5 separate regions of the Homo sapiens genome follow, and regions 2, 3, 4 and 5 are each linked to region 1. Evidence: promoter capture Hi-C in 16 types of primary human blood cells and fetal thymus (Javierre and others, 2016). All regions are on one chromosome and are shown on one strand. Each heading gives the region's core, a stretch centred on a gene start or on the middle of the fragment in contact. The rest is flanking DNA. Distances are from core to core; before and after follow the strand shown.

Region 1 (5,905 bases), core at 1,035-3,534:
CATCTTTAGTGTTGAAATGGCAAGCAACTTTCAAAAGCATTTCAACTACTATTACCTTCACATTAAAAAATTAACTGATTTTGCATATTTCTAAAACCACAAAGACATTTTCCCCACACACATTCAATCCTCCATGGTTCCAATGAAATAGATAAGAAGTTAACACTTTATATTGAGGTATAGTGTTGACCCTAAAAGATTGCAAAAGACTGATAGTAAACATGCAGCAAGAAAGCTTTTTTAAACAATATATTGCTGGGCACAGTGACTCACACCTGTAATCCCAGCACTTTGGGAGGCTAAGGTGGGAGGATCACCTGAGCCCAGGAGTTCTGAGGCCAGCCTGGGCAACAAAGTAAGACCTCATCTTTACAAAGAAATTAAAAATTAGCTGGGCATGGTGGCACACGCATGTGGTCCCAATATACATGGGAGGCTGAGGCAGGAGGATCACTTGAGCCAGGGAGGTCGAGGCTGCAGTGGGCCATGTTCACATCACTGCACCATGACCTGGGCAACAAAAATATATAAATGGGCTGGGCGCAGTGGCTTACGCCTGTAATCCCAACATTCTGGCAGGCTGAGGCGGGTGGATCACCTGAGGTCAAGAGTTCCAGACCAGCCTGGCCAACATAGTGAAATCCTGTCTCTACTAAAAATACAAAAAATTAGCTGGGTGTGGTGGTGGGCACCTGTAATCCCAGCTACTCGGGAGGCTTAGGCAGGAGAATCGCTTGAACCCGGGAGGCAGAGGTTGCAGTGAGCCAAGATCACACTATCGCACTCCAGCCTGGGAAGCAAGAGCAAAACTCTGTCTCAAAAAAAAAAAAAAAAAAAAAAAAAAAAAATATATATATATATATATATATATATATATATATATGTAAAATTTATTTTAATATTTATAAATGTTGCATTTATAAAATATATAAATAATATATATTACCTGGCATTCCTCCAACTCACAAAGGTACAGTTGCTCTAATTAAAGGGACTCCTGGTTAAGCCGTGGCTTTAAGAACAGTTTGAAAACCTTCTTGCTTTTAAAAGACATAAAACAGCAAGTAAAATGGAAGGACAGACAGACCTCTAGTTTGGTTTGACTGGAGCTGTATGCTTAACTAAGGAGCTGAAAAACAGAGGCGGAGGTTGCAGTGAGCCGAGATGGTGCTACTGCACTCCAGCCTGGGCGATGGAGTGAGAGTGACTCAAAAAAAAAAAAAAAAGAAAAAGAAAAAGAAAAACAATACCTATTAATAGCCTTTATTTGTGCGTGTTAGCAACAGTTTATAATGATGCTTCCACATGCTTTCAGTTAGGCCCTCCTTGTGAATGTGACCTTCACTTAGACGCCAACTTTGAAGGGAATCAATACTACGGCCTTGTTCTCATTAGGGCTGTACTAAAATAATTGAAACTGTCACACATCATCAAACTCAAAATTTTACAATACCTTGAATGACACTGTGCTTACAAAACTGACGGTGATGTGTAATGATGACTAATGTAAGTCACCATGAAGAATTTTTATGGGAAGTAAAAATTCAATTAAGATGGAAGTACCTACCCTTGCATTGTGCAAGGCAATGAAGATCTGAAGGAAGCCTGCCTTCAAGGGCTTGGATTTTGACAGCGGACAGGTACACAAATACAGCACCAGGTAAAATACGGCCTGTATTATCATTTATGGGTGGGTACAGAGGAGAAATTCTGACTTACGGAATGATTTCCTGGAGAAGAAATTACTATCTGGCTTCTTGTGAAACAAAGGCTCTACACTTTACCCTTGCCAACGTATAGTATGAAGGTCTTTAAGCTTAAAAAAAATCATTAATTAGAGGACCACTGGGCATCATCTAAGGCAAGTGTATGACTTTAGAGTCGGGAGAAATTTGCGCCTGAGCTAGAAATGCACTAGCCTACCATTATCACAAGAGCAAGTCAGTGACAGAACAGTTCTCTGACCGCCAGTGCAGTGCCCTCCCACTTGATCAATCAGTCATTAAGGCTCACTGGCAAGCCCTTCGTACTTCTTCCCTCTCCGGCACTAGCTTCCTTAAGTCGACTCTGTGAAATACCTGCTAATCTTATCCTGAACCAGAGTTTCGACCCTCGGAACAGTCTTGCCCACATCTTTGGGACCCGATTCGTCCTGCTGATTCCGGCACTCGAGGGGCGGGTTGGTTGGAACCCACCCCACCAGGCCCCTCTCAATCCCACACGGTGTCCACCCTTGCCCGCAGGACGGCGGCCCGGAAGTGACGTAGTGGAAGCGGAAGTGGTGTAGTGGTGCCGACTTCCTGTTGTTTGAGGCCGGGTTGGGGGTGTGCGATTGTGTGGGACGGTCTGGGGCAGCCCAGCAGCGGCTGACCCTCTGCCTGCGGGGAAGGGAGTCGCCAGGCGGCCGTCATGGCGGTGTCGGAGAGCCAGCTCAAGAAAATGGTGTCCAAGGTGAGGCTGCGACGCGCTCGCCTCCCAGGGCGCGCCCACCGCTCCCTTCCGCGCCCTGTCGAGTCCGTCCCGGCCCAGCCAAGCAAGCTTCCCAGACGGGCCGGAAGCCCCGGTGCAGTCCTTAGCGACCTCCTCAGAACCCCGCCCCGAGGCGCCTGTCGCCTGGTGCGGGAATCCCCGTACGGGAGCTGGGAGGGTGGGGGACGGCGACAGTCAACAAAGGCGTGGAGCGGAGGCTACCTGACACCTGCCGCCCACCCGCCCTCCTCTCTTCCACTGAGTTTGGAGCTGTCTGTGGGGCAGTGTAGTTTTTCGTTTGTTTTTATAAACACAAACAAGGGATCATACTTAGTTGTAGATCTGAGGCAATCCTCTACTCCTGTCCCAATCTAGGGATCCTCCAGTCTTAGCCTTTCTTTTGCCGACCCGCAGAGAGTGTGGCCTTTTCAGTTTTGTATTCTCCAGAAAAGAAGCGAAAATACCAGTCCCTTACTGCCCCAGGTGAAATACATACCATTACCATTTCAGGGATTTTCTAAGAGTAACTACTTTTAAGTGTATGCTTCTTATAACGCGTATTTATTTGCTTTGAGCTTAATTTATGATCTTCACGGCTCAAGACTAGTGTTTTTTTTTTCAATTTTTAAAAAAGCAGTTAAGCATTTTGTATTTTAAAGCCATGATTTATTTATATAATTACTTCAAACGTGGCACCTCACACCAGAGTGGAATGGCTTTTGTTATGTTTTGTTGTAATTTTCCAAAACTATGTAAAATGATTGAGAGTTGAGTCTTGACCAGTTCAACGTGTTAGCTTGGGATAGTTTTGTCAAAGCAAGAATGGTAGCAATCAGCGGTTTAAGCGGTTTCAATTTTTAATAAAACACACTATTATGTGTAAAACTTTTTTAAAAACAGACTTTTTCCAGTTAAATCGCCCCCATAGTTCTTGATTGAAGACCAAATAATCTCTAAGGAGAAAATGACAGCTTTCAAAATAAAGCATATATTGGTTGTGTAATCGTATATTTTAGGCTTCTTGGTTTTGTTTTGATAAACTTGTTATCCTTAGTTATAGAAGACATATGGGAAGCCATAGAAGATTGTGACCCAGGTAAAGATCCATGTTGTAACTTTTATATATCACTTTTTGAAAAAAACGGTATATTGTTTTACATAGTATGTAACTGAAGAGTATCTGTTCCATGACTCTTTTTTTTTTTTTTTTTTTTTTAGAGTCTTGCTCTGTCACCCAGGCTGGAGTGCAGTGGCACGATCTTGGCTCACTGCAATCTCCGCCTCCCAGGTTCAAGCGATTCTCCTGCCTTAGCCTCCCAAGTAGCTGGGGATTACAGGTGCCCACCACTTCACACAGCTGATTGTTGTATTTTTAGTAGAGACGGGATTTCACCATGTTGGCCAGGCTGGTCTTAAACTCCAGACCTCAGTGATCCACCGCTTTGGCTTCCCAAAATGATGGGAATACAGGCGTGAGCCACCACACCTGGCCTCCATGACATTTTTGATCTTTAAATTGATAGCATAGTCATTAAGATTTAGTCCTTGGGCTGGGCGCAGTGGCTTACGCCTGTAATCCTAGCACTTTGGGAGGCCAAGGCGGGTGGATCACCTGAGGTCACGAGTTCAAGACCAGCCTGATCAACATGGTGAAACCCCGTCTCCTAAAATACAAAAATTAGCCGGGCATGATGGCGGGTGCCTGTAATCCCAGCCTACTCGGGAGGCTGAGATGGGAGAATCGCTTGAACCTGGGAGACGGTGGTTGCAGTGAGTCGAGATCAGGCCACTGCACTCCAGCCTGGGTGGCTGAGCAAGACTCCATCTCAAAAAAAAAAAAAAAAAGATTTATTCCTTAATGTATGTATATTCATATAAAGAGCAAGAATATTCAAATATTAGCTTATTTTTTATACCCTAATTAAGTTTCCTAAGCTTCCCTAGAGAAACCTGCCATCAAAGACAAAGGCAAGGCATGTTCAGAAGATATTTTATACCTCTACCTGCCTTCCCCTCCACCCAACCTGTGATTACTTTAGAAACAAAAACAGAGGTAGGGAAGAGGTGGGAGAGGGCATCCTACCTGCCTTTTGGTCCTTGACTCAATATCTGGAAAATTGAGACTCCTGTATGTGATTATGACGATTCTGAGCATCAGCATTAGTACTGTCCAACCTATGAATTTTAGACAGGTAAGAATAGGAAGTAAAGTAATAGAAGCAGTTGTGGGGCTCCTTCCTCCTAAAGAAGGGCTTCAAATGTTTTCCTTTCAGCTGGTGTGGTCTGATGTAAGAATTGTTAGCCAGGACCCTGAACACATAGCTAGGGTGAAGGTCATTATTGTTTTCTCTTTATCTGATTGTAGGCTCTCCACACACATCATGGTACTCTGGCCACCTGCCTTATGTTTTATGTGTTTATTATAAAAGGTCTTTTTTTCCCTTGAGCATTATCTTAGCTCCCAACTTCAACATAACTTTCAACACCTTTCTCTGTTATTTTTGCAATTAACAGATATATTTATACCAGATTAGTCCTTCTTCTTTTACAGAAACAACTTCCCACTTTAGATGTTTCATACATACAGCCACTTATATTTTTACATAGTTTATCTACAGCATTTCTAGAGGCACAGTCACTGCTAAATGAGTAGAAGAAAACTGTGGGCCTGGTGTGGTGGCTCATGCCTGTAATCCCAATACTTTGGGAGGTAGAGATGGGAGAATCCACTTGAGGCCAGGAGTTCAGGATCAGCCTGGGCAACATAGCTAGACTCTGTCTCTACAGAAAATTTAAAAATCAGCCAGACTTCGTGGCTTGCACCTGTAGTCCTAGCTACTTGAGAAGCAGAAGCAGGAGGATCACTTAAGCCCAGGAGTTCAAGGTTACAGTGAGCTATGACAGAGAACCTGTCTCAAAAAGTAAAAAATAAACATTTTAAACTATAACAAAATTGGCCAGGTGCAATGGCTCATGCCTGTAATCTCAGCACTTTGGGAGGCTGAGGTGGGCGGATCACTTGAGGTCAGGAGTTTTGGACCAGACTGGCCAAGATGGTGAAACCCCATCTCTACTAAAAATACAAAATTAGCCAGACATGGTGGCGCACGCCTGTAATCCCAGCTACTCGGGAAGCTGAGAAAGGAGAATTGCCTGAACCTGGGAGGCAGAGGTTGCAGTGAGCTGAGATCACGCCACTGCACTCCAGCCTGGGTGACAAAGCGAGAATCCATCTCAAAAACAAATAAATAAATAAAAATAATAAAATAAAGATTGATATGTCCCTCACTGTTTTAGGTTCTAGGGATGCAACAGTGAACAATCAGACAAAGAAACTGTGCTTCTGGAATTTAAATTCTTATAGAAGGCAATAAACAACTCAATAAATACATCAAGAAGTACGTTGGAAAGTGATAAGTGCTTTAGAGAAAATAAA
Region 2 (5,905 bases), core at 3,111-5,610, 1.4 Mb after region 1:
GACCAGCCTGAGCAAAATCGTGAGAACCCCGTCCCTTTAAAAAAAAGTTGGGCACGGTGGCTTACACCTGTAATCCCAGCACTTTGGGAGGCCGAGGCAGATGGATCACCTGAGGTCAGGAGTTTGAGACCAGCCTGGCAAACATGACAAAACTCCATCTCTGGACATTTCATATAAATAGAATCATAAGGCCGGACGCGGTGGCTCATGCCTAGGCTGGAGTGCAGTGGCACCATCTCGGCTCACTGCAACCTCCACCTCCTGGGTTCAAGCGATTCTCTGCCTCAGCCTCCGGAGTAGCTGGGATTACAGGTGCCTGCCACCATACCTGGCTAATTTTTGTATTTTTAGTAGAGACGAGGTTTCACCATGTTGGCCAGGCTGGTCTTGAACTTCTGACCTCGTGATCCACCCGCCTCGGCCTCCCAAAATGCTGGGATTACAGGCATGAGCCACCGTGCCTGGCCTTATGATTCTATTTATATGAAATGTCCAGAATAGGCAAGTCCATGAGACAGCAGATTAGAGTGGGGAGAGGAGACTGGAGAGCCAACAGCTTAATAGTTACCGGGTTTCTTTTGGGGGTAATAACATATCAGGAATTAGTGGTAATGACTGCACAACATTGTGAGTGCAATAAAAGTTACTGAAGTAACTGTATACTTCAAAATGGTAAAAAAGTGAATTTCATGGTATGAATTTACCTCAGTAAAAAAATATTAAAAATTCAGTTTGTAAAGCTATTTGATCACTGAACTTCTGACCTTAATAAATGCATTAACAGTAACTATTTTCTAGATACTAAAATTATAACTTTCCCTTTGTCTAAAAAATTAGAAGTTTCCAATTTGCAAAAGCAGCTCTCACAAAAGCATGCCACATATAAAGGCAATGGAGCATGGCTTAATAGAAGGTAAACACCGTTTGATTAAAACTCAGCACTACATCGTATTTTATCATCATTACTGAATATACAAACATTACCAGATAAAATAACTATGGCAGGCCGGGTGCAGTGGCTCACACCTGTAATCCCAGCACTTTGGGAGGCTGAGGCGGGCGGATCACTTGAGATCAGGAGTTTGAGACCAGCCTGGCCAACATGGTGAAACCCCCATCTCTACTAAAATACAAAAATTGGCCGGGCGTGGTGGCGGGTGCCAGTAGTCCCAGCTACTCGGGAGGCTGAGGCAGGAGAATCTCTTGAACTCGGGAGGTGCAGGTTGCAGTGAGCCAAGATCAGGCCACTGCACTCCAGCCTGGGTGACAGAACGAGACTCTCTCAAAAAACAAAAACAAAAATCTTCATGTATAACTAACTGACAACCCAAATTACACACAGACATCCTGTAATCTGGGACTAGATTGCTAAATCTACTATTCCCATCATCTTCCTGAAATAAAGTCTACAATCTAGACATCTACAAAGGGGGAAAAATGACATTATTTAGGTTCATTCTTTCAAATAATTACTGAGTACCTAACTTCCCGCCAGGCACTCTTGTGGGTGTTGGAGATAAAGCAATAAACGTTGTACTCTCAGAGCTAATTTTTATTGGAGGTGGACAGGCAACCAAACAAGCAACTAGAAAGGATGTTAGAGATTTGGGTGCTTTGAAAGTAATCAATAGGATATTGTGTTGGGAAGAAGGACTACTTTAGATGATCCTATTTAGGGAAAGCCACCCTGAGATGACATGGAGGCCAGGATGTGAAAGTGAGACCTGAAAAGGTCTTGAGGAAGAGCAAGCACTTCAGGCAGTGCCAACAGCAAGAGGAAGGGCTCTAAGCAGGAAAGGAACACATTGCTACCTTGTAGAGTCAGAAAGGAGTAAGTGCGGTTAGAGCGTTTAGAATCGGGGGATAGTGGCAAGACGTGGGTCCAGGGATTGGATCTTAGGTGCATTGAGAAAGTATGGGAGGGATTTACACAGGGGAGCAATGAATTAATCTGCTTTATGTATTTAATGGATCACTCTGACTGCTAGGTGGAGAGTGGGTTGTGTTTAGAGTGGGGACGTGACCAGACGGTGTGGATACTACAGAGTTGCCCAGATAGGAGGTGATGGTGGCTGGGACTGAAGGTGGAAATGGGGCAAAGGGAACATATTCATGATACATTCTTGTGGTAGAGCTGGGATGACAGAGGGAAATCAGAGAAAAACGGAGATGCCTAGGTTTGTATTAAGTTTGAGCAAACAGGATCGTGTTTAACTGAAACAAAGGGGCATGGTTTGGGAATTGGAGTCATATTAAATTTGAGATACCTATTCCATATCTGAACTAAAAATGTAAAATTGGCTAATGATAAACTTTGCTAGAAAAAAACATTACCCAAATAGGGTACCCGATTTGACTAAAATTCCTAATGCTTTGGGAAAAGTTATTAATCAAATAGTGACAGATTATGGCTTTTTTGGGGGGGAGGGGTGTTGTTTTCTTGGAGAACTGACCCGTTTGTTGTTATAAAGGGTTCTCTCTTTATCCCTGATACTTTTTTTTTGAGACGGAGTCTCGCTCTGCCACCTAGGCTGGAGTGCAGTGGTGCGATCGTGGCTTACTGCAAGCTCCGCCTCCCGGGTTCACGCCATTCTCCTGCCTCAGCCTCCTGAGTAGCTGGGACTACAGGCGCCCGCCACCACGCCCGTCTAATTTTTTTGTATTTTTAGTAGAGACGGGGTTTCACCGTGTTAGCCAGGATGGTCTCGATCTCTTGATCTCGTGATCCGCCCGCCTCAGCCTCCCAAAGTGCTGGGATTACAGGCGTGAGCCACCGCGCCCGGCTATCCCTGATAACTTTATTTCAAATAGTGACAGGTTAAAAGTTAAGAGCGGATGTTTCAGTATCTAGTTTCCCAGCGTCTTGCCAGTTACTTTAAGCTTGTCGACAGGAGTTTGATTTCACTGACCTCCCTCCTTCCTAGAGCTATGCTTACTTTTTAAAATTTTAAGAAGCTGCTTCATTTGCCCATTCTTTCAACGCATTGTTGTGTACCGGCACTGAGTCAGTCTTTTTCTTTCTTTCCTTTTTTTTTTTTTTTTTTAAGACAGAGTCTTGCTCTGTTGCCCAGGCTGGCGCGCAGTGGTGCTATCTCGGCTCACCGCAATGTCCTTCCCGGCTCCAGAGATTCTCCACCTCAGCCTCCTTCGTAGCTGGAACCAAAGGCACGAGCGAGCACGCCCGGCTAATTCTTTGTATTTATAGAGAGGGGGTTTCGCCATGTTGCCCAGGCTAGGTCTGTCTTAAAAGAGCTTCTTCCGGCCAGGCGCGGTGGCTCACGCCTGTAATCCCAGCACTTTGGGAGGCCGAGGCGGGCGGATCACCTGAGGTCGGGAATTTAAGACCAGCCTGACCAACATGGAAAAACCCGTCTCTACTAAAAATACAAAATTAGCTGGAAGTGGTGGCGCATGCCTGTGATCCCAGCTATTCAGGAGGCTGAGGCAGGAGAATCGCTTGAAGCCGGGAGGCGGAGGGTGCGGCAAGCCGAGATCGCGCCATTGCACTCCAGCCTGCGAATCAAGAGCGAAACTCCGTCTCAAAAAAAAAAAAAAGCTTCTTCCTTGACGGTTCCCTTTTCCCATGAAATTCAAATGCTTCATTTTATCCCTCATCCTCTTGGCCTTTGCAGTCTTGCTCCCAAGGCTCTTCCCTGCCCGCCAACTCTCTCACTTGGGAACATAGCTCCGTAAGCCTCTGCCCAACCCTTCTCCCCGGCGAGCCCAGCGCCCCAGAGCCCTGCGCAGGGGAATTCGAGTGCGGAGGGCGGCAGGCATCCGTGGGGACCTGGTTCAACTCCTTAGACCGGTTCTTCACCGTCAGCGACTCTCCCCTGACAGATTAGGGTAGGATTTAGAAATGAGAAATGGAAGCGCTGGCTGGGCGGTAGCCGCTGCCATGGCTTCCCGTGTGGTCCTCATCACATGCTATTGTATCTGTTAATTTATTAGGCGCAGGGCCGACTCTGAGGGATCTAGTGCCAGGACAAAGCCAGGCACTGGTGAATGAGCAAACACCTGTGTATGGCTGCTTCTTCCAGCCCTACCTGCTCCATACCCACCCCCAGCGCAGCATTCGAATCTTTGTGATCTCGGCGTCCACAGGGAATTTCGACGCAAGCTGGCGTCAGCCTCAAATTCCCGCTCTGGCAACAAGGCTGACCAAAGACCGATGCATGCCGGGATGAGGCTGGATTGACGATCTCTTGCGACGCTGAAATGCATTTCGGGAGATGTAGTCACACAGACGGGCGGTGGCTGCGCAGCGTAGCTCCGCCTCCTGCGTGAGAGGAAGCGGGGACGTGTGAGGTCACTTCCTGCGTGTTGGGTGGCTTCCTGCGGCGTTTCCACTCTCGCTCTCCTTTCGTTGCCTGATCGCCGCCATCATGGGTCGCATGCATGCTCCCGGGTGAGCTCGGGGCATCAAGCCGGATTGCTGGGCGGGGGGTGGGAGGAAGACAGGGAGTGTGGGCAGCGGGCCGAGGGGATGATGTTCTGGGCTGCTCTGGCACTAGCCGCCACCTCACCTCGAGACTGCTTCTCTCCCCAGGAAGGGCCTGTCCCAGTCGGCTTTACCCTATCGACGCAGCGTCCCCACTGTAAGTAGCGCGCTGGGACCGGGGAGAATCCGGGGAGGGGGTTGGCATTTGTCTCGGGTGAAGCGACGCCAGGGTGAGGAACTTGCGTGTATGAGGAGCGCGGTTTTGCGGAAGGAGAGACCGCTGTTCTGCGGCGCCATTCCTGGGTTCTCATCCTAAGGCTGCTTTCTATTCCATAACAGTGGTTGAAGTTGACATCTGACGACGTGAAGGAGCAGATTTACAAACTGGCCAAGAAGGGCCTTACTCCTTCACAGATCGGTGAGTGTTTGTGTCTAACATAGCCTATTTCGCCTGTCCTCGTGTGACTTGTAGGATCTAGTAGGTGGTAAAGTTATTTTAAAAATAGCCAAAACTCTGGTCTCGCCACCGTGCTAGAGGCATCATTGTAAGCACTTCACATGTACTGATTTCGTTTAATTCTGACCACAATACTTTGAAATAAATCTTCATGGCTTTCACCCCAGTTTACAGTTGAGGAAGCAGAGGCACACTGCCGCTGGATACTAACCAGCCCCAAATCACACAGCTGTCAAGTGGAGGAGTTGGAATTGGCTAAGCAGAGTGCCTGACACAGTTCCTCACAGTTAGGTGTGGTTTGAATCTCAGCTGCGTGTGACTTCGTGCAAGTGGCTTCATTCAGCAAATGTTTACCTTCTATGTGCTGAACATGGTTCTGGGGCCTGAGAACATACTACTCTCCGACTCCCCCGCCCAAAAAAGCCAGCCGCAATGTGCCTGTAGTCCCAGATACTTGGGATGCAGAGGTGAGAGGATCACCAGAGCCTAGAAGTCCCAGGCTGCAGTGAGCTATGATGAAGCCACTGCACTCCTGGGTGACAGAGAGACCCCACCTCTTTTTTTTTTTTTTTTTGAGACAGTCTTGCTCTTGTCGCCCAGTCTGGAGTGCAGTGGCGCGATCTCAGCTCACTGCAACCTCCACCTCCTGGATTCAAGCGATTCTCCTGCCTCAGCCTCCCGAATAGGTGGGATTACAGGCGCCCGCCAGCAGGCCCAGCTAATTTGTGTGTTTTTGTTTGAGACCGATTCTCACTTTGTCACCCAGGCTGGAGTGCAGTGGTATGATCTCGGCTCACTGCAACCTCCGCCTCCTGGGTTCAAGCAAGCAATTCTCCTGCCTCTGCCTCTGGAGTAGCTGAGACTACAGGCCGCACCACCACGCCCGGCTAATTTTTGTATTTTTAGTAGAGACGAGGTTTCACCATGTTGGCCAGGCTGGTCTCAGACTCCTGACCTCAGATGATCCACTGCCTCGGCCTCCCAAAGTGCTGGGATTACAGGCGTGA
Region 3 (5,905 bases), core at 862-3,361, 1.3 Mb after region 1:
TTCCTGGTGGGTTTCAGGCAGAAAAGCTCTGTTGGGAAAATTTTTAAATCTATTGTAGCATCAAAGGCCACAGCATATAAGAGATGCAAGAAGAAGAAAGCTGTTTGTAGGGGAACGGTGAAGACATAGTAGAAAGAGGGAAGGCTGCACAGAAGTCCAGGAACTAATTCCAGGAGAGACTTTGTACCTTTGCCTCCTTGGCTTGTGGTTCAAGTCTCCACAAGAGACTCCTTTAGCAGCTCTGCCATAGTTGGGGTTGGTGCTCTTTTTTTTTTTTTTAATTGACATGGGGTCTCACTGTGTCGCCCAGGCTGGTCTACCATGCCCAGCAGAATGGTGCTTTTTTTTTTTTTAAATTTGATCTAACCTTATCTGGACAGGATGGTGCTCTTATTCACAGCAGCAAATTAGACGAAAGGACCCTAGTTGAAGTATACAGATTTTATTTTTATATAAGATATTTGTTTAGTATCAAGACAGTGGTTACATACTGAAAAACAATGTAACTGGGAATAGAGAGATTTTATTTGTTAACTCAGATTTAGTTCAAAAGTGATTTTACGTAGGTAGAAAGCACATATGGAGTTTCTTCCATAAATTCCGTAATTTTGGCTGAATTAATACATTCTAAAGTAGGTTTTTTCTTATCAAAGTGTCTTGCTATTTGTGTTTTATATGCGTGTTTCCTGCAGTTTTCTTTGCAAATAACATGTTTTAATGTTTTCATCACAGGTTTTACAATTTTTTTCTGTTTGAATCTCGCTCTGTCGCCTAGGCTGGAGTGCAGTGGCACGAGAGCTCACTGCAACCTCCACCTCCAGGGTTCAAGTGATTCTCCTGCCTCAGCCTCCTGAGTAGCTGGAATTACAGGCACGCGCCACCACACATGGCTCATTTTTGTGTTTTTTCAATAGAGACTGGTTTACACTATGTTGACCAGGCTAGTCTCGAACTCCTGACCTCAAGTGATCTGCCCGTCTTGGCCTCCCAAAGTGCTGGGATTAAAGACTTGAGCCACTGCACCTGGCAGTTTTTTCTGTTTTATAGAATACAAAAGCTGGCATGTTTGCATTGAGGAATTTTAGAAACTAACTTTTTGTAATGAATAACTGTATACTAAGTTTGTTTCTTCTGCAATTAATAGTTCTAAAATTTTCAATTAATTGAAGATTGCTTGCATTAATTCCCATGTCCAGGACTCTTTCTGTAGCACAAAGTTTTGCATTTAAGTAAGCACATTCAATAAGTGAACTTATACCTAAAGAGTGTTGAATTTCCTGAGAACTCAGAGTTCTTATAGAGCATCAGAGCAGCAGTAGTGCAAAGCATTTTTTGTAACTTGTTTTTCTTTGATAACATGAATTATTCTTTTTTTTTTTTTTTTTTTTTTTTTTGAGATGGAGTCTCACTCTGTTGACGAGGCTGGAGTGCAGTGGCACGATCTTGGCTCACTGCAACCTCCACCTGCCGGGTTCAAGTGACTCTCCTGCCTCAGCCTCCCGAGGAGCTGGGACTACAGGCGTGTGCCGCTATGCCCAGCTAATTTTTGTATTTTTAGTAGAGACGGGGTTTCACCATGTTGGTTGGCCAGGATGGTCTTGAGCTCTTGGCCTTGTGATCTGCCCACCTCGGCCTCCCAAAGTGCTGGGATTACAGGCTTGAGCTACCCTGCCCGGCTCTTTTTTTCTTTTTTGAGACAGTCTCACTCCGTCACCCAGGCTGGAGTGCAGTGGCGTGATCTCAGCTCACTGAAACTTTTGCCTTCTGGGTTCAAGCAATCCTCCTGCCTCAGCCTCCCAAGTAGCTGGGATTACAGGTGCACACCACCACACCCACCTAAGTTTTGTATTTTGGTAGAGACGGGGTTTCACCATGTTGGTCAAGCTGGTCTTGAACTCCTGACCTCAAGTGATCCGCCCGCCTCGCCCTCCCAAAGTACTGGGATTACAGGTGTGAGCCACTGCGCCTGGCCTATGCATTGTATTAATTTAGCATATTCCAAAAATAATTTAAGACAGGCAAATGATAAATGTGGATGTTTCTGGTGGTGCATCACATTGTAGGTGATTTCATTTTAGTAGTTGTACCTGCATAGGGCTAAAAATTAACCCTCTCAAAGCTCTGAGAGTGCCGGAGGGCCTGAAAGAGTGCCTGGTACTTCAAAGGTTCCCAGGGATAAGAAAAATGAATGAGACAGTGCTTGCTCTCAAGAATTTCTCATCCATTTGGAAGACAACGTACATTTTATAACAGTATAATTATAAGGGCAGGCTAAATAGGATATGGTCACCTGGGCTGGGAGATGGAAAAGGAATGAGGGGGTTTGAGGAGGAAGAGGATGCTCAAGTTGAGTCTTAAATGATTAATTCCTTCTATTCATAAGGGCAGGATGGATAAACGTGATCAGGTTCTAGGCCCTGCTCTGCTTCTATCAAGCGGTGAGATATTGAGCAAACTGCTTAATACTTCTGGTATCCATTTTCCTTATTCAGGATTCGACTACATATATAAAGCAGTGCTGTACATGAGAAATATGTGAGCCAAAAATGGGAGTCACATAGGTAGGAGATTTTACATTATTTTTTTCCCCTAAATCTTTTAAATCTGGTGTATGTTACACTTGGTACATCTCAATTTGGAACAGCCACATTTCAGGCACTTAATAGCTCCATGTAACTAGTAACTGCCATATTGGACAGTATAGATCTAGAGGCTGGGTGCATTAATGCATGCCCATAGTCCAGTGCTTTGGAGGATCGAGGCAGGAGGATCTCTCTTTTTTTTTTTTTTCTTTGAGACGGAGTCTCGCTCTGTCGCCAAGGCTGGAGTGCAGTGGCGTGATCTCCGCTCACTGCAAGCTCCGCCTCCCAGGTTCACACCAGTCTCCTGCCTCAGCCTCCCGAGTAGCTGGGACTACAGGCGCCCGCCACCACGCCCAGCTAATTTTTTATATTATTTTAGTAGAGACAGGGTTTCACGGTGTTAGCCAGGATGGTCTCAATCTCCTGACCTTGTGATCTGCCCGCCTCGGCCTCCCAAAGTGCTGGGATTACAGGCGTGAGCCACTGTACCCTGCCAGCAGGAGGATCTCTTGAGCCTAGGAGTTTGAGGCTGCAGTGAGCTATGATCACCACTGCACTCCAGCTTGGGTAACAGAGTGAGACACTGTCTCAAAAAACAACCACCACCACAAAAAAGATCTAGAGGCTATTCTGTCTTGGTTCTCTGCTTGAAAAAGGAAAAGGGACTCCAATGAGAAAATTATCACTGGTAATTTATAATTTGTAATCATTTTGATGGTACTCATATATGATGTTCTTTTGATGAGAATTATGGTCATACTTGCAAATATTGCTGTAAGTATCTTTCAGGTTGTTCATAGGATTATGGTTGGGATGAGAAGAAATGTCTTTGTTTTCTCTGCATCTGTAGTGGAGTCATATTTTTGTTATCTTTATTTTGTTCATTTATGTATACTTTGTATCCTTTTTTTCTACAGTATGTTATTTCTTTTTTTCTTTCTTCTTTTTTTTTTCTAATAGAGATGGTGTCTCACTATGTTGACCAGGCTGGTCTTGAACTCCTGGCCTCAAGCGATCCTCCCATCTTGGCCTCCCAAACTGCTGGGATTACAGGCATGAGCCACTGCACTCGGCCTGCAGTCTGTTTTTCTAATGTAATGGATTTAAAACACAATGAGAGTGCATATGGACATTTTAGAAAGTTAAAAGGAGAATTTATACAATTTTAAACTAATTCTTGGATTTCTTAAAATTTTAAACTTAGCTATTTGGGTACAAAAACAAATGGGATTTATAAATCCTCTTTTAATAGATTTGAAGGCAGTTATTGTTGGCTTAGCAACAAGTATTTATCTTTTAACCTTGAGACTGCATTAAGATAGTGTATAATTAACATGCTTACTGTTAAACATAAGGCTTTCTGTTAGTATTACAGTATAACAGTTACATTATTGATATGACTGATGTGCAATGTTGGTGCACTTAATTTGCTGTGCACTGAGCTTGGTTAAAAAACACTAGTGGCTAATTTTAGACAAGATAGCTATGACTGACAATAATACATCTTTACACTTGGATTGACTGATGGTTATAGCTTAGCTAACACTGTTTTCCCTCCAAGACCTTATTACCTGTGAGGTAAATACAGCAAGTATTCTGATTTTGCTGAGGCCCAAAGATGTTGTGACTTACTTAGCATAATAAATTAGAAGCATTGCTTGAATTCAGGTCTTAACAATGCTAGGCCCAGTGTTCTGTTCTTTTTTTTTTTTGAGGGAGGTTCTCTCTGTGTCGCTCAGGCTGGAGTGCAGTGGCTCCATCTCAGCCTACTGCAACCTCTGCCTCCCACACTTGGGTGATTCTCCCACCTTAGCCACCCAAGTAGCTGGGACTACAAGCACGTGCCATCACGCCTGGCTAATTTTTGTGTTTTTTGTAGAGGAGGGGTTTTGCCACATTGTCCAGGCTGGTCTTGAACCCCTGGGCCCACCTTGGCCTCCTAAAGCGCTGAGATTACAGGCATAAGCCACCACGTCCACCCCAGTATTCTTTTCTTTTCTTCCTTCTTTCTTTTTTTTTTTTTTTTCTGGAGATGAAGTCTCACTCTTGTCGCCCAGGCTGGAGTACAATGGCGCAATCTCAGCTCACTGCAACCTCCGCCTCCTGGGTTCAAGTGATTCTCTTGCCTCAGCCTCCCGAGTAGCTGGGATTACAGGTGCATGCCACCATGCCCGGATAATTTTTGTATTTTTGGTAGAGATGGGGTTTCACCATTTTGGCCAGGCTGGTCTTGAACTCCTGACCTAAGGCGATCTGCCCGCCTCTGCCTCCCAAAGTGCTGGGATTACAGGTGTGGGCCACCGCCCCGGGCCCCAGTATTCTTTTCATTGAATCTCTTCATATGGCATTTGAGTGTTTAGATACATAGTACAAACCAGATTTTTGGAGTGTATAAAGAAATAGTTACTTCCTGCCTTTGGGAAGTTTATATTCCAACTAGGAGAGACCAACTAACTACAATCCATGTAGCAAAAAGTACTTCAGTTATTTAAAAAAATTTGTTACGGGAAAGAAAAGATGTAAGGGATAATATAGTCAAATGGAAAATAGATAAGAGTTAATTAGACAAGATTTTTGAGTAAAGAGTTTAGATTGTAAATCCTTACTATAGGAAGAAGAAGATGATGAGGTGTTAAGGATAGTGTTATTTCAATGCACAGAGAACAACTTAAGGGAAAACTTAGCTAAGGGAACATAAAACGTAGGTTTAGGGAAAGCTTTTCTTTTTTTTTTTCTTTTTTCTTTTTTTTTTTTTTTTTTGAGACGGAGTCACGTTCTTTCACCAGGCTGTAGTGCAGTGGTGCGATCTTGGCTCACTGCAACCTCTGCCTCCCAGGCTCAAGTGATTCTCCTGCCTCAGCTTCTCAAGTAGCTGGGATTACAGGCACACGTCACCACGCCCGGCTAATTTTTGTATTTTTAGTAGAGATGGGGTTTCACCATGTTGGCCAGGATGGTCTCAATCTTTTGACCTCATGATCTGCCTGCCTCGGCCTCCTGAAGTGCTGGGATGACAGGCATGAGCCACCACACCAGGCCTAGGGAGGGGTTTTCAAGGCTTATTTTTTATTTTTATTTTTTAGATAGAATATCGCTCTGTAACCCAGGCTGGAGTGCAGTGGCACGATCTTGGCTCACTGCAACCTCCGCCTCACAGGTTCAAGCGATTTTCCTGTCTCAGCTTCCTGAGTAGCTGGGATTACAGGCGTCTGCCACCACATCTGGCTAATTTTTGGGTTTTTAGTAGAGACGGGATTTCACCATGTTGGCCAGGCTGGTCTTGAACTCCTGACCTGAAGTGATCCGCCCACATCTGCCTCCTA
Region 4 (5,905 bases), core at 673-3,172, 1.3 Mb after region 1:
TAGAGACGGATTTTTGCCATGTTATCCAGGCTGGTCTCGAAGTCCTGGACTCAAGCGCTCTGCCTTCCTCAGCTTCTCAAAGATTAGAAGCGTGAACCACCACACCTGGCCTCAATTATCTTTACTAACACTTCTCATCCACATACATAGATCAGTACCTCAAGGTTAGGCTCCTTTTTGAGGTTCAGGAGAAGAGGACCCTCCAGCCTGGGCGACAAGAGCGAAACTCCGCCTCAAAACGAACAAACAAACAAGGGTGAACTCCTAGGAGCAGGAGACTGATGCAGGACAGGAAAGCGCCAAAATTGAGGATTCTTGGCTTCACCCAGTAAAGAATTCAAGCGTGAGCTGGTGGTGTTAAACAGCAACTTTTATTGAAGCCGCAGTACCCGGCAGCAGCAGAGCTACTGCTCCTTGCAGAGCAGGGCTACCCTGTAGGCAGTGTGCCCAGAGCAGCAACTCAGAGGCAGTTCTGCATTCCTGTTTATACTGATTTTATTTTATTTTTATTTTTATTTATTTATTTTGAGACAGAGTCTCACTTTGTCACCCAGGCTGGAGTGCAGTGGTATAGTCTCAGCTCACTACAGTCTCCACCTCCTGGGTTCAAGTGGTTCTTCTGCTTCAGCCTCCTAAGTAAATGGGATTACAGGCACCCGCCACCACTCCGGCTAATTTTTGTATTTTTAGTAGAGACGGGGTTTCACCATGTTGGTCAGGCTGGTCTCGAACTCCTGACCTCAAGCAGTCCACCCACTTCGGCCTCCTAAAGTGCTGGGATTCTAGGCATGAGCCACTGTGTCTGGCCCTATACCCACTTTTAAGTATATGCAAATTAATGGGCAGTTTATGCAGAAATTTCTAGAATGAGGGTGGCATCCTCCAAGTTGTCAGGTCATTGCCACAGAAAGGGGCCATAACTTCAGGGTGTTGTCATGGCAATGGTAAACTGACATGGCACAGTGGTGGGCGTGTCTTATGGGGAGGTGCTTCTGTTCCAAACCTGTTTCAGCTAGTTCTCAATTTGGTCTGGTGACCAAGCCCTGCCTCCAGAGTTGAGTTCTGCCTCCCGTCTCAGTACCACCAGCTTGCCTAAGGAGGCATGAACTGGTCCAGGTTGGAAACAGAGCAGGTCAAAAACTCCTTTCCTGATCAGTAGTGGGATCACGCCTGTGAAGAGCCACTGTGTTTCAGCCTGGGCAGTATAGCAAGACCCTGTCTTGTCTAAAACAGTTCATTCGTGTGCACAATTGGAAAAAGCTGCTTTTAGAACCAGATAAATTGAATGGGAGACCTTCTTTATGTTTGTCCTGGTTTCAGTCAACTAAAACCCTCTTTTCCCCGCTTTTCTTTTAGAGATAGGGTCTCACTATGTTGCCCAGCTAGTCTTGAACTCCTGGCATCAAGCAATCCTCCCACCTCAGCCTCCCAAAATGCTGGGATTACAGGCATGAGTTACTGCACCTGGCCTACGCCTGTCTCTACAAAAAGAGCTTTTTATAAATTAGCTGGGAAAGAATCCACAGACCCTTTGAAAGATGCAGCAGGCTGCAGCGTACTCTGTGAGACAGGTGAAAAACTGTCAATTCCCAGAGTGTGAGAGGGGGAGAGTCTTCCTCCAAGCACACATTCCTACCAGGGAATCTGAACCTCTAGTCCACAGGAGAAGGCTTTAACCCTCCCCAGAGCCGGAATGGATTTAGGGAGTGGCGTGAAATAAATAAACGTAGAAGCAGTAGTGGGAAGTGCCTCGTAGGCATTCCCAGTCTCTATTGTGAATGGAGGGAAGCCATTCCTGACTGTATCTTACAGGGGCCCTCAGGGAAGCCAGCCAACAAACTGAGGGAGGGGTCCCAAGGTGAAAGAAGCTCCCAACTGAATTTTATGATATAATCTGGAGTGGGGATGAACTCCCTTGAGCAGAAACCAGTGGGCAAGCGAGAAGTGTGCAGGAGACACAAGCATACATGCTGGGTGTTCAGCTTACCAGCAGAAAGGGAAGGGCATGACCTGAAAGCTGTGGTTTCAGGTCACAGTGTGCACAGACTGCCTGGATCTAAACTCAGTGCTGCTAACAGGGCACTGATGGAGCAAGACCAGCCTTGCCAACTGCATGGGAGCTGGGTGAGGCTTGCTGCTGCCTGCTACTCCCCACTCCCTTTGTGAACTCATGTGCAGCAGAGGCAGTTATACTCCCTTCTGGAACAAATGGAAACACATCCCACAACACTGCCAAAAGCAATCTACAGATTCCATACAATTCCCATCAAAATACAATCATCATTCTTCACAGAACTGGAGAAAAAAATCCTAAAATTCATATGGAACAAGAAAAGAGCCGCATAGCCAAAGCAAGACTAAGCAAAAAGAACAAATCTGGAGGCATCACCTTACCCAACTTCAAACTATACTACAAGACTACAGTTGCTGCCGGGCATGGTGGCTCACGCCTGTAATCCCAGCACTTTGGGAGGCCAAGGCGGGTGGATCACCTGAGGTCAGGAGTTCGAGACCAGCCTGGCCAACATGGTGAAACCCCGTCTCTACTAAAAATACAAAAATTAGCCAGGTGTGGTGGCAGGCGCCTGTAATCCCAGCTACTCAGGAGGCTAAGGCAGGAGAATTGCTTGAACCCAGGAGGCGGAGGTTGCAGTGAGTCGAGATCATGCCATTGCACTCTAGCCTGGGGGACAAGAGCGAGACTTCGTTTCAAAAAAAAAAAAAAAGGCTATAGTTACCAAAACATCATGGCACTGACATAAAAACAGGAACACAGACCACTGGAATAGAATAAAGAAAAATGGCCAGCCACGATGGCTCACACCTGTAATCCCAGCACTTTGAAGGCTGAGGCTGGTCATCACTTGAGGCCAGGAGGTCAAGACCAGCCTGGCCAACATGGTGAAACCCTATCTTTACTAAAAGTACAAAAATTAGCCGGGTGTGGTGGTGGATGCCTGTACTCCCAGCTACTGGGGAGGTTGTGGTAGGAGAATTGCTTGAACCCGAGTGGCGGAGGTTGCAGTGAGCTGAGATCACGCCACTGCACTCCAGCCTGGGTGACCGAGTGAGATCCTGCCTCAAAAAAAAAAAAAAAAAAAAGTCAAAAAACAATAGATGTTGGCATGGATGTGGTGAAAAGGGAACACTTTTACACTGCTCTTGGGAATGTAAATTAGTACAACCTCTATGGAAAACAGTATGGAGATTCCTTAAATAACTGAAAGTAGAACTACCATTCAATTCAGCAATCCCTCTATTGGGTATCTACCCAAAGGGAAAGAAGTCATCATATGAAAAAGATACTTGCACATGCATGTTTATAGCAGCACAATTCTCAAGTGCAAAGACATGGAACGAACCTAAGTGCCCAGCAACCAACAAGTACACAAAGAAAATGTGTTATATATACACTATGGAACACTACTGATTCATAAAAAGGAACAAAATAATGTATTTTGCACCAACTTGGATGGAGCTGGAGGCCATTATTCCAAGTAAAGTAACTCAGGAATGGAAAACCAATTATCATATGTTCTCACTTATAAGTGGGAGCTAAGCTGTGAGGACACAAAGGTAGAATTATATAATAGACTTTGGGGACTCAGAAGGTAAGGTTGGGAGAAGGGTGAGGAATAAAAGACTACATATTGGGTACAGTGTATACTGCTGGGGAACCGGGTGCACTAAAATCTCAGAAATGACCACTGAAGAACTTATCCATGTAACCAAAACCTACCTGTACCCCAAAAACTATTGAAATAAAACACTTTCAAAGATAAAAAGTGGCCAGGCACAGTGACTCATGCCTGTAATCCCAGCACTTTGGGAGGCCAAGGCGGGCAGATCACCTGAGGTCAGGAGTTCAAGACCAGCCTGGCCAACATGGTGAAACCCCGTCTCTACTTCAAATACAAAAAAATTAGCTGGGTGTGGTAGTGCACGCCTGTAGTCTCAGCTACTTGGTAGGCTGAGGCAGGAGAATTGTTTGAACCCGGGAGGCTGAGGTTGCAGTGAGCCGAGATCATGCCACTGCACACTCCAGCCTGGGCAACAGAGTGAGACTCTGTCTCAGAAAAAAAAAAAAAAGAAAAAAAAGAAAGAAAGAAAAGAAAAAGAATAAATAAAACCCCAGCATTGAAAGTCTTGCTGCTAGGAACAACGGATGCTTTTGAAGCACCACCCTTTGTGCTTTGTTGGGGGAAACCAGTTATGTGGAAGCACTTGTGGATCCTCAAGAGTGTGCATGGGAAGGAATGAGTGTAACACGGGCAGGGCAGGGACCAGTGGACTTTTTGTAAGCTTTCAGCTCAATAAAATGAACCTATGTGGTGAGATAATAACAGTAAGTAAAACTAAAACTTGAAGGTTTAGCACTGACAGAGAATCTCCTGGTGGGAAAGATGTCTAAAGAACATGGGCCAGGCGCGGTGGCTCACACCTATAATCCCAGCACTTTGGGAGGCCTAGGCAGGTGGATCACTTGAGGTCAGGAGTCTGAAAGCAGCCTGACCAACATGGTGAAACCCCATTCTACTAAAAATACAAAAAAATTAGTGGGACATGGTGGTGCATGTCTGTAACCCCAGCTACTTAGGAGGCTAAGGCAGGAGAATCGCTTGAACCCAGGACACGGAGGTTGCAGTGAGCCAAGATCATGCCATTGCACTCCAGCCTGGACAACAGAGTGAGATTCTGTCTCAAAAAAAAACAAAAAGCAACAACAACAACAACAACAACAGAAACCATAGTCACTACCTTGTGTATTCCAACTGTTCTATAATACTAATTAAGAACATAATCACTACCTTGGACAAGGGAAAATACACAAGCTTTAGCGTCAGAATTGGACCCCAACCCTGGCTCTACTGCTTATTACATGTGCCCAGTTTTGAGTTAGTTCCCTAACTCTAGGCCTGGTGCATTTTCTAGAGAGTAGTTGTTCAAGTCTGGAAAGAGTGAATCTGGGAGGTATAGTGGTTAAGAGCGTGAACAATGAAACCCGTCCACCTGGATTAAAAACCCAGCTCCATCCATATTAGCTAATGTCCTCCAGCAAGTCACTTAACCCCGCTCTTCAAAGCACAGCTTTCCCACTTGTAAAATGCAGGCAACAATAGTTCAAGCTTCCTATAGTTGTGGTAAGGATTAAATGAGTTTATATTTGTAAAGCAGAGGGTGCCCGGTGCAAAGTGCTTTATTAATGTCTAATAATATATTGGTCTCCGTTTCTCCACCTGTAACCTGGGGATAATAATGCCGAACTAACTTTAAGGATTCCAATGATACATGTGAAGTGCTAGAAAGGTGGCCAGATGCGGTGGCTTACGCCTGTAATTCCAGCACTTTGGGAGGCCGAGGCGGGCAGATCACCTGAGGTCAGGAGTTGGAGATCAGCCTGGCCAACATGGTGAAACCCAGTCTCTACTAAAAACACAAAAATTAACCAGGCGTGGTGCTGAGCACCTGTAGTCCCAGCTATTCAGGAGGGTGAGACAGGAGAATCACTTGAACTCTGGGAGGCAGAGGTTGCAGTGAGCTGAGATCACCCTACTACACTCCAGCCTGGGCAACAAGAGCGAGACTCCATCTCAAAAAACAAAACAAAAAAAACACCAAAAATAAAAAATAAAAAACCCAAAATAAATAAATAAATAAATAAATAAATAAATAAAAATAAAGTCCTAGTGAGGAGATGTCCAATAGCTTTTATTTCTGTTCCCCACCTCGCCCCTACTTCTGCCCTGTTACCTTGGAAATCCTGTCTGATTACTGCTACCTCTGCCTTCATGTTGTCTCTTGCTCAGCTTGGTGTAAGTAATTGATTCCTTGATTTCCTTGATTCCAGGAGATTTCTTGATTTCCTTTGGCTCAGCTGAGAAACTCAAAATGTGTTTGCTGGAAG
Region 5 (5,905 bases), core at 2,383-4,882, 1.2 Mb after region 1:
CTTTTTTTTTTGATGTTTTCCTATTTATTTATTTAGAGACAGGGTCTCGCTGTGTCACCCAAGCTGGAGTGCAGTGGTGCTATCACTGCTCACTGCAGCCTCCACCTCCTGGGCTCAAGTGATCCTCCTGTCTCAGCCTCCCAAGTAGTTGGGACTACAGGCACATGCCACCATGCTCAGCTAATTTTTTCATTTTTTGTAGAGATGGAGTCTTACTAAGTTGCCCAGACTGGTCTCTAACTCCTGGGCTCAAGCAATCCTCTCATTGCCTCCTCAAGTATTGGGATTACAGGTATGAGCCACTGCGACTGGCTAGATGTTTTCCATTTTAGAACAGTAGGTTGCTAGCAAGTTTACGCTTATACCTATTCCAACAAAAAGTGCAAGGACAGTTCAAAATATTACATTTGCTATTTCAAAGAAGAGTACAACTCCAAAGAAGTCAGACTCATTACTAACAATGCAGAGCTAGACATCTATATTTAGATAAATGTCAGAAACCGAATTCCCCTTGTTGCCATCAAACATGTCCTTTCATTAGTCACATCCAACATATCTAAATAAAGTTTTCAAAATTAATGTTAACAAAAATGTATCCAAAAACCTGCCAACTTACTCAAAGATTTGTGCAAGTCTATTTTTTAAAATAATACATTAGGGAAACGCGGTGACAAGCTTTCTGTTCTATGTATCAAAGCAAAAACAGACTTGACCTACAAAATGAAGATAGGGTCAACTGTAACCAAAAAAACAGTATGCTTCCCCCTGGTGGCCAACCAAGAAATGGAGAAACCAAGGATATGAAACAGCCAGGCCACCTAGTTGTATTGTCACTCTTAAAAACGAAAAGTGACTACCAAAAAAAAAAAAAAAAAAAAAAAAAAAAGAAGAAGAATTGGGGGGTCGGAGGGAGAAGGGAAAATATCAAAAACACTAACATGTGCTTAAAAGGAATACAAACCTGAGTGCCAGACTACATAAATTTAGAAGATTTAAATCAACAAATCAAAATTTAGAAGGCAAATTTGGGAAACCTCGTCTATTTTCAGAGCGCCCAAGCGCTCACCCAGGACCTCCATGTATTTTCATTTAAAGGTACAGAGTGTAGTACCTTAACAGCTTAACAGCATTCGCCTTTTTCAAGGACTAGATCCTTGGAATTTTCTGCAGTCTTGTTTCCAAGGAAAAGCATTTATGCATTTATCTTTTCAAATCAACTAGTGGTATAACCTACATAGAGAACCTCCAGTTCTAGAGCTCTCCAACTAGGGAGGACTGTTAACTACAGCTTTACAAATTGCTCTTTTCAACTTCATTTCTGAAATAAAACCTAACGTTCTTTAAAACATTTTCTATATCAACAACCTTTAAAGACATTCTCATACAAAGACGGGCTAGAATCTCTTGCATTAAAATCTGACGAATTCCTTTGTATGACTGGATTTTTTTTTTCTTGTACCACTTTAAATTTGCTTCCACGCAGAATAGCAGCCAGGCAAACAGATGCTCCATCCTAAGGTGTAGGAATTTCTTGTAGGCGGAAATGATTTGTTAGGCGAAAGCTTCCGAAACGGTTTTCCATTTCACAGTCTCTTCCGGTGCCAAAGTCCAGCACCAACGCCTGGTTCTGGGGTCCGACCCTCATGCAGCCGCCGCCGCGCTCCTCGTGGCTGGACGAGCCGGAACTAGCTTCCTCCAGGAGCTGCTGCTGCTGCTGCCGTCACTGGGCGCCGCCGCACAGCCAAACGGCGTTCCTCCCTCTCCGCTTCCCTGAGAACTCGCGGCCCTTCTCCACCACCACCAGCATCCGCGGGGACCGAGACCGGACGAAAGTGGCGGGGACCCAAGGCCCCTGAGGAGGGGGCGCCGGGCCCGGGAGGGGGCGCGGGACGGGCATGGGACCGGGTGGGCGCGGCGGCAGCCCACTGGCGCCACTTCGAGCTCGAGGAGACCCAGACTGATAGAGCGCGGAGGCGTTTCCAGACCGCAGCGACAGGCGTTTCCAGACCGCAGTGACAGGCGTTTCAAGTCCGCAGCGCGGAGACAAGCGCAATTTTGGCTTTCCACTTCACCGCCCACACTTCACTCGGAACTGTCTTATTTTCACATTGCTTATTGCAAATGTATAGAAATACTATTCACTCGTTTTTATTTCCACTTCCCTCTCCCATCGGGCAGCCATTCTAAGGTGTTTAACATGTAATTTTTGTTCTCTTTAAGGCTGTATCTTCTGTTTCTCAAACTGTGGAAATGGTATTGCATTGTATGTCCACTGTTTACTTGGCTCTACGCCTTCAACATCCGTTCACGCTGCTCGGCAAGCAGCAAGGGCGTGGTGTGAAGCTGCCGCCAAGGTCTCCACGGTGAGGTCCACACGCGGCTCTCCTCCACCTGCAGTGACTCGGGGCGCCCAGAGCGCGCCTCCGGGATTCCTACATTCCACCTCCACCACCCGGCACCCAGGAGCGTATTTTGGCCAGCCTAGTAAGGGTCAAGCAGCATCTTGTTGTTTAATTGCCATTCTTCTAGTTAGAAATGAGTTTAAATATCTCTACATACGCGTTTCAGCCTTTTAGTCTCCTGTTTAAGTTAACGCAGAACACGCCCATACGAGTTCCCAAAAAAGCAAGAGAACGTTTGAAGGTCACCACAAGATCAAAACACTCCCCTCCCTCTCTCAGTAAAGACCTAACTTAGCAAAGCCAGGAGGACCCACTGATATGCGGATGAATGATTTTTCCAATTTACCGATTCCCTGATTTTCTTCTCTCCTCCGGCCCCTCGGATGATGCGAGAGAGGCGCCAAATACCGAGGCACCAAACGCGCGACATCCAAGGAAGCACCGTTTCCGCTCTCACAGGTGTCGACCCTGCACAGGGCAGGCCTTCAATGTAAACCTGTTGCATCGGGGACTCCGCTTCTCACAAAGGAGGGACGCTTGAAAATAGAGCCCCCAGGCCGGGCGCGGGGGCTCACGCCTGTAATCCCCGCACTTTGGGAGGCCGAGGCGGCTGGATCACTAGGTCAAGGAGACCATCTTGGCTAACACTGTGAAACCCCGTCTCTACTAAAAGTACAAAAAATTAGCCGGGCATGGTGGCGGGCGCCTGTGGTCCCAGCTACTCGGGAGTCTGAGGCAGGAGAATGGCGTGAACCTGGGAGGCGGAGCTTGCAGTGAGCCGAGATCGCGCCACTTCACTCCAGCCTGGGAGACAGAGCGAGACTCCGTCTCAAAAAAAAAAAAAAAAAAAAAGGAGAAGAAATAGAAAAGAAAATAGAGCTCTCAGCCCCCAGGAAGTTGAGGTCCCCTGGCGGGATGCTAGGGAGCCGACCCGCGAGGACCCTCTGGCGCCAGGAGCCCCCGCCCCAGCCCACCCCAGCCGCCCCCTACCTTCGGTCGTCAGCGCCCACAGCAGAATCAGGAGCGCCGCGCACGTGGAGGCGGCAGCCCTCCACGTCATCGCCGCGGCTGCTGTTGTGTAATTTTTTTCGCCGAGTGGGAGCAGGCGGCCCGGTAGAAACCAAGGGCAGGGGGAGACCTCTGTTGCGTAAAGAGTTGACGGAGACACAGCCGGGATTTCCAGCCGGCGCTTTTGCACATCCCACTTCTTCAGATCCCTTCGGCAACTGCGAAGTCGCCTGGATTTCCCAGGTTCGCACTGCAGGAAGCCAGGCGCGTGACCAGCCCCACCCGCGCCGCACTTTAGCCCGGGGGCGGGCACCGGCCGGGGAATCCTCCCTCGCCTCCGCCCGCGGCACGAGGTTGCGCGGTTACAGCCCCGGTGCCTCTCGCGAGCGGCTCTGCGGTCCAGGACTCGGGGCATCCTCTGGGTTCGCTTAGTAAATTGAGACCGGGATCCAAGTGGCCCGGGGCGCTGCTCTAAGGAAGATGCTGACCGCAGTCGGTGATTGCGAGAGCAGGTGCACGCGTCCAGAGCGACATCTTACCGTTGGCGCGATAAACTTACATTACTTTAAAAACCAAAAACAACAAAAATTTAGCATTAAGTCGAAAGGCAAATTAAATCCCCAGGACAATTCAGTTAAACGCCTGAAGGTGGCCCTTAATTTCCCATTTCTACTAATCAAGAAGTGGCTTGCGACCTCCTGAAGCAAACCCAAATATTCTCATTCGGTGATTAAGTTTTACCACCTCTACACCAGTTTTTAAATCAATTTAACCGCAAAGTTCAGAACCCAAGTGGCACAGTAAATGTGTGTGCATTTATAACGCAGAACCTGCATTCTTTCCCCAGCAACCTGCATTCCATTTGTCTCATTGACCCTACTGCATTTTTCCTTCGCATCATTAAAAAGGATGTAATGTACAGAAAAGCACAGACAGACCTAAACTCCAATGCCAACCATGCCATCTGCTGATTATAAGACAGTGGGTAAGTGACCTCATATCCCCAGCCTGTTCACATGTCTCTAAAACTGAGAGAGTAAAAGCTTCCTTTCCAGGGTTAGAGACACTGTCACTGACTAAGCAAATAGTCACATTCTCACTTATCTGCAGAACAGAGTGCATACAGAAAGAGCTCAGAAGTGAAAGATGCGCAGAGTGCCCACAGTGGCAGCAACTAGCTGAGGGGCCTTCAGATCGCAGCCTTCCGGACCACCGTTATAACAGGTAGAGATATGCAAGGTTAAGTCCAGCTATTGAATTTTTAAAACCTAAATTACACCTCTTCTCAACCTCTGCCTCCTCCAAGGAGCCTTACCTGAGGAGACATCCTTGTCTGGTATTAGTGACATCATTAAATAACATTCCCAATGGAGGTATATGACGACTTCTTATACATGCCCAGAATAGTGATTCACAAAGTTGTGACACATACACATCACCCTGTAGAAATTATCAAATTACTCTTTTGGTAATTTTTACTGTTTTGGTAATTTTTTTGTACCCTTTTTACTCTAAAGGGTAAAACCGGCAGGTTTCTCTATTTATATTTCATTAGAATGAAAAGTCATTACCTGTGTTTTCGTTTTTACCAATATCATGTCTATTTGAACATCTTTTTTTTTTTTTTTTTTTTTTTTTTTTTTTTGGTGAGACAGAGTCTCGTTCTGTTGCCCAGGCTGGAGTGCAGTGGCGTGATCTCAGCTCACTGCAACCTCTGCCTCCCAGGTTCAAGAGATTATTGTGCCTCAGCTTCATCCTCCCAAGTAGCTGGGATTGCAGGTGCCTGCCACCACACCCAGCTAATTTTTGTATTTTTAGTAGAGACAGAGTTTCACCATGTTGGCCAGGCTGGTCTTGAACTCCTGACCTCAAGTGATCCGCCCACCTCGGCCTCCCAAAGTGCTGGGATCACAGGCGTGAGCCACCACACCCGGCCTGAACATGTCTTTTAATACTTTTGCCAACTTTCCATTCAACCCTAAAGCACACAGCAGATACCTCACGATGCTTCTCAAACAAAATAAGCATATATTCTCAGGAATTATTTATGGAAAACTCTGACTTTCTGTGTTCTTTATTGGTGCACAGCATTGAGACACGGTATTCAAATGCTGGTTGACACTGAGGTCATTTTTATGACACATTGCATCCAACTTGCTGTTGGAATATCACATACAATTTTGGAACCATATTGTAACACATATTGAAAATATCCAACAAGTAATCAGAATGGTAAATAAGGGACATTCACTCAAAGACATGTATCCAGGGACAGTATGGCAGAGACTGCTATTTGTCAACCAATATCTGTTTTCCCCTTTTTCCTTGAAAAAGGCCTCCAATATTTTCCTGGGCACAGGGATCAATAAAAGACTGCATTTCCTAATCATTCTGGAACTAAATGTGGCCATATGACCAAGTTCTGGCCAAAGTAATATAAATGGAAATGTTCTGTGTGACTTCTGGGAAATGTCCTTAAAGAGAAGGAAATGATC

Evidence for each region. Contacts are between HindIII fragments. The CHiCAGO score rates a contact against its expected background, and 5 or more counts as called.
Region 2: the fragment with the promoter of RPS13 here is called in contact with the fragment with the promoter of TSG101 in region 1 in 6 of 17 cell types (fetal thymus, naive CD8 T cells, total B cells and 3 more); the score reaches 13.6 in fetal thymus.
Region 3: a fragment that was not itself captured here is called in contact with the fragment with the promoter of TSG101 in region 1 in 1 of 17 cell types (fetal thymus); the score reaches 5.0 in fetal thymus.
Region 4: a contact is called between a fragment that was not itself captured here and the fragment with the promoter of TSG101 in region 1, in 1 of 17 cell types (fetal thymus). The highest score is 5.9, in fetal thymus.
Region 5: a contact is called between the fragment with the promoter of NCR3LG1 here and the fragment with the promoter of TSG101 in region 1, in 1 of 17 cell types (fetal thymus). The highest score is 7.4, in fetal thymus.

Annotation. Positions count from the first base shown.
Region 1 is chr11:18,523,321-18,529,225 of GRCh38, reverse strand. It overlaps TSG101 (tumor susceptibility 101), which reads left to right and starts at 2,284. Exons shown (of 10, transcript NM_006292.4): 1 at 2,284-2,451. The coding sequence starts at 2,410. RefSeq lists an enhancer at 2,015-2,124. The HindIII fragment of the contact is 722 bases long and covers 1,819-2,540 here.
Region 2 is chr11:17,076,122-17,082,026 of GRCh38, reverse strand. It overlaps RPS13 (ribosomal protein S13), which reads left to right and starts at 4,360. Exons shown (of 6, transcript NM_001017.3): 1 at 4,360-4,408; 2 at 4,550-4,598; 3 at 4,781-4,859. The coding sequence starts at 4,386. RefSeq lists an enhancer at 4,127-4,326. The HindIII fragment of the contact is 8,959 bases long and covers 3,559-5,905 here.
Region 3 is chr11:17,200,963-17,206,867 of GRCh38, reverse strand. All of the region lies in intron 1 of PIK3C2A (phosphatidylinositol-4-phosphate 3-kinase catalytic subunit type 2 alpha), which reads left to right. Among named protein-coding and RNA genes, the nearest start is that of PIK3C2A, 4.1 kb to the left of the region's middle. RefSeq lists an enhancer at 4,457-4,958. The HindIII fragment of the contact is 6,380 bases long and covers 1-5,301 here.
Region 4 is chr11:17,269,178-17,275,082 of GRCh38, reverse strand. No RefSeq gene overlaps it. Among named protein-coding and RNA genes, the nearest start is that of NUCB2, 4.6 kb to the left of the region's middle. The HindIII fragment of the contact is 4,765 bases long and covers 1-4,304 here.
Region 5 is chr11:17,349,527-17,355,431 of GRCh38, reverse strand. It overlaps NCR3LG1 (natural killer cell cytotoxicity receptor 3 ligand 1), which reads right to left and starts at 3,632. Exons shown (of 5, transcript NM_001202439.3): 1 at 3,393-3,632. The coding sequence starts at 3,462. It overlaps LOC105376576 (a long non-coding RNA gene), which reads left to right and starts at 3,566. Exons shown (of 3, transcript XR_931094.3): 1 at 3,566-3,653; 2 at 4,258-4,395; 3 at 4,521-4,619. It also overlaps a transcript of NUCB2 not described here. RefSeq lists enhancers at 2,217-2,266, 2,491-3,092, 3,093-3,694 and a silencer at 3,691-3,810. The HindIII fragment of the contact is 2,891 bases long and covers 1,565-4,455 here.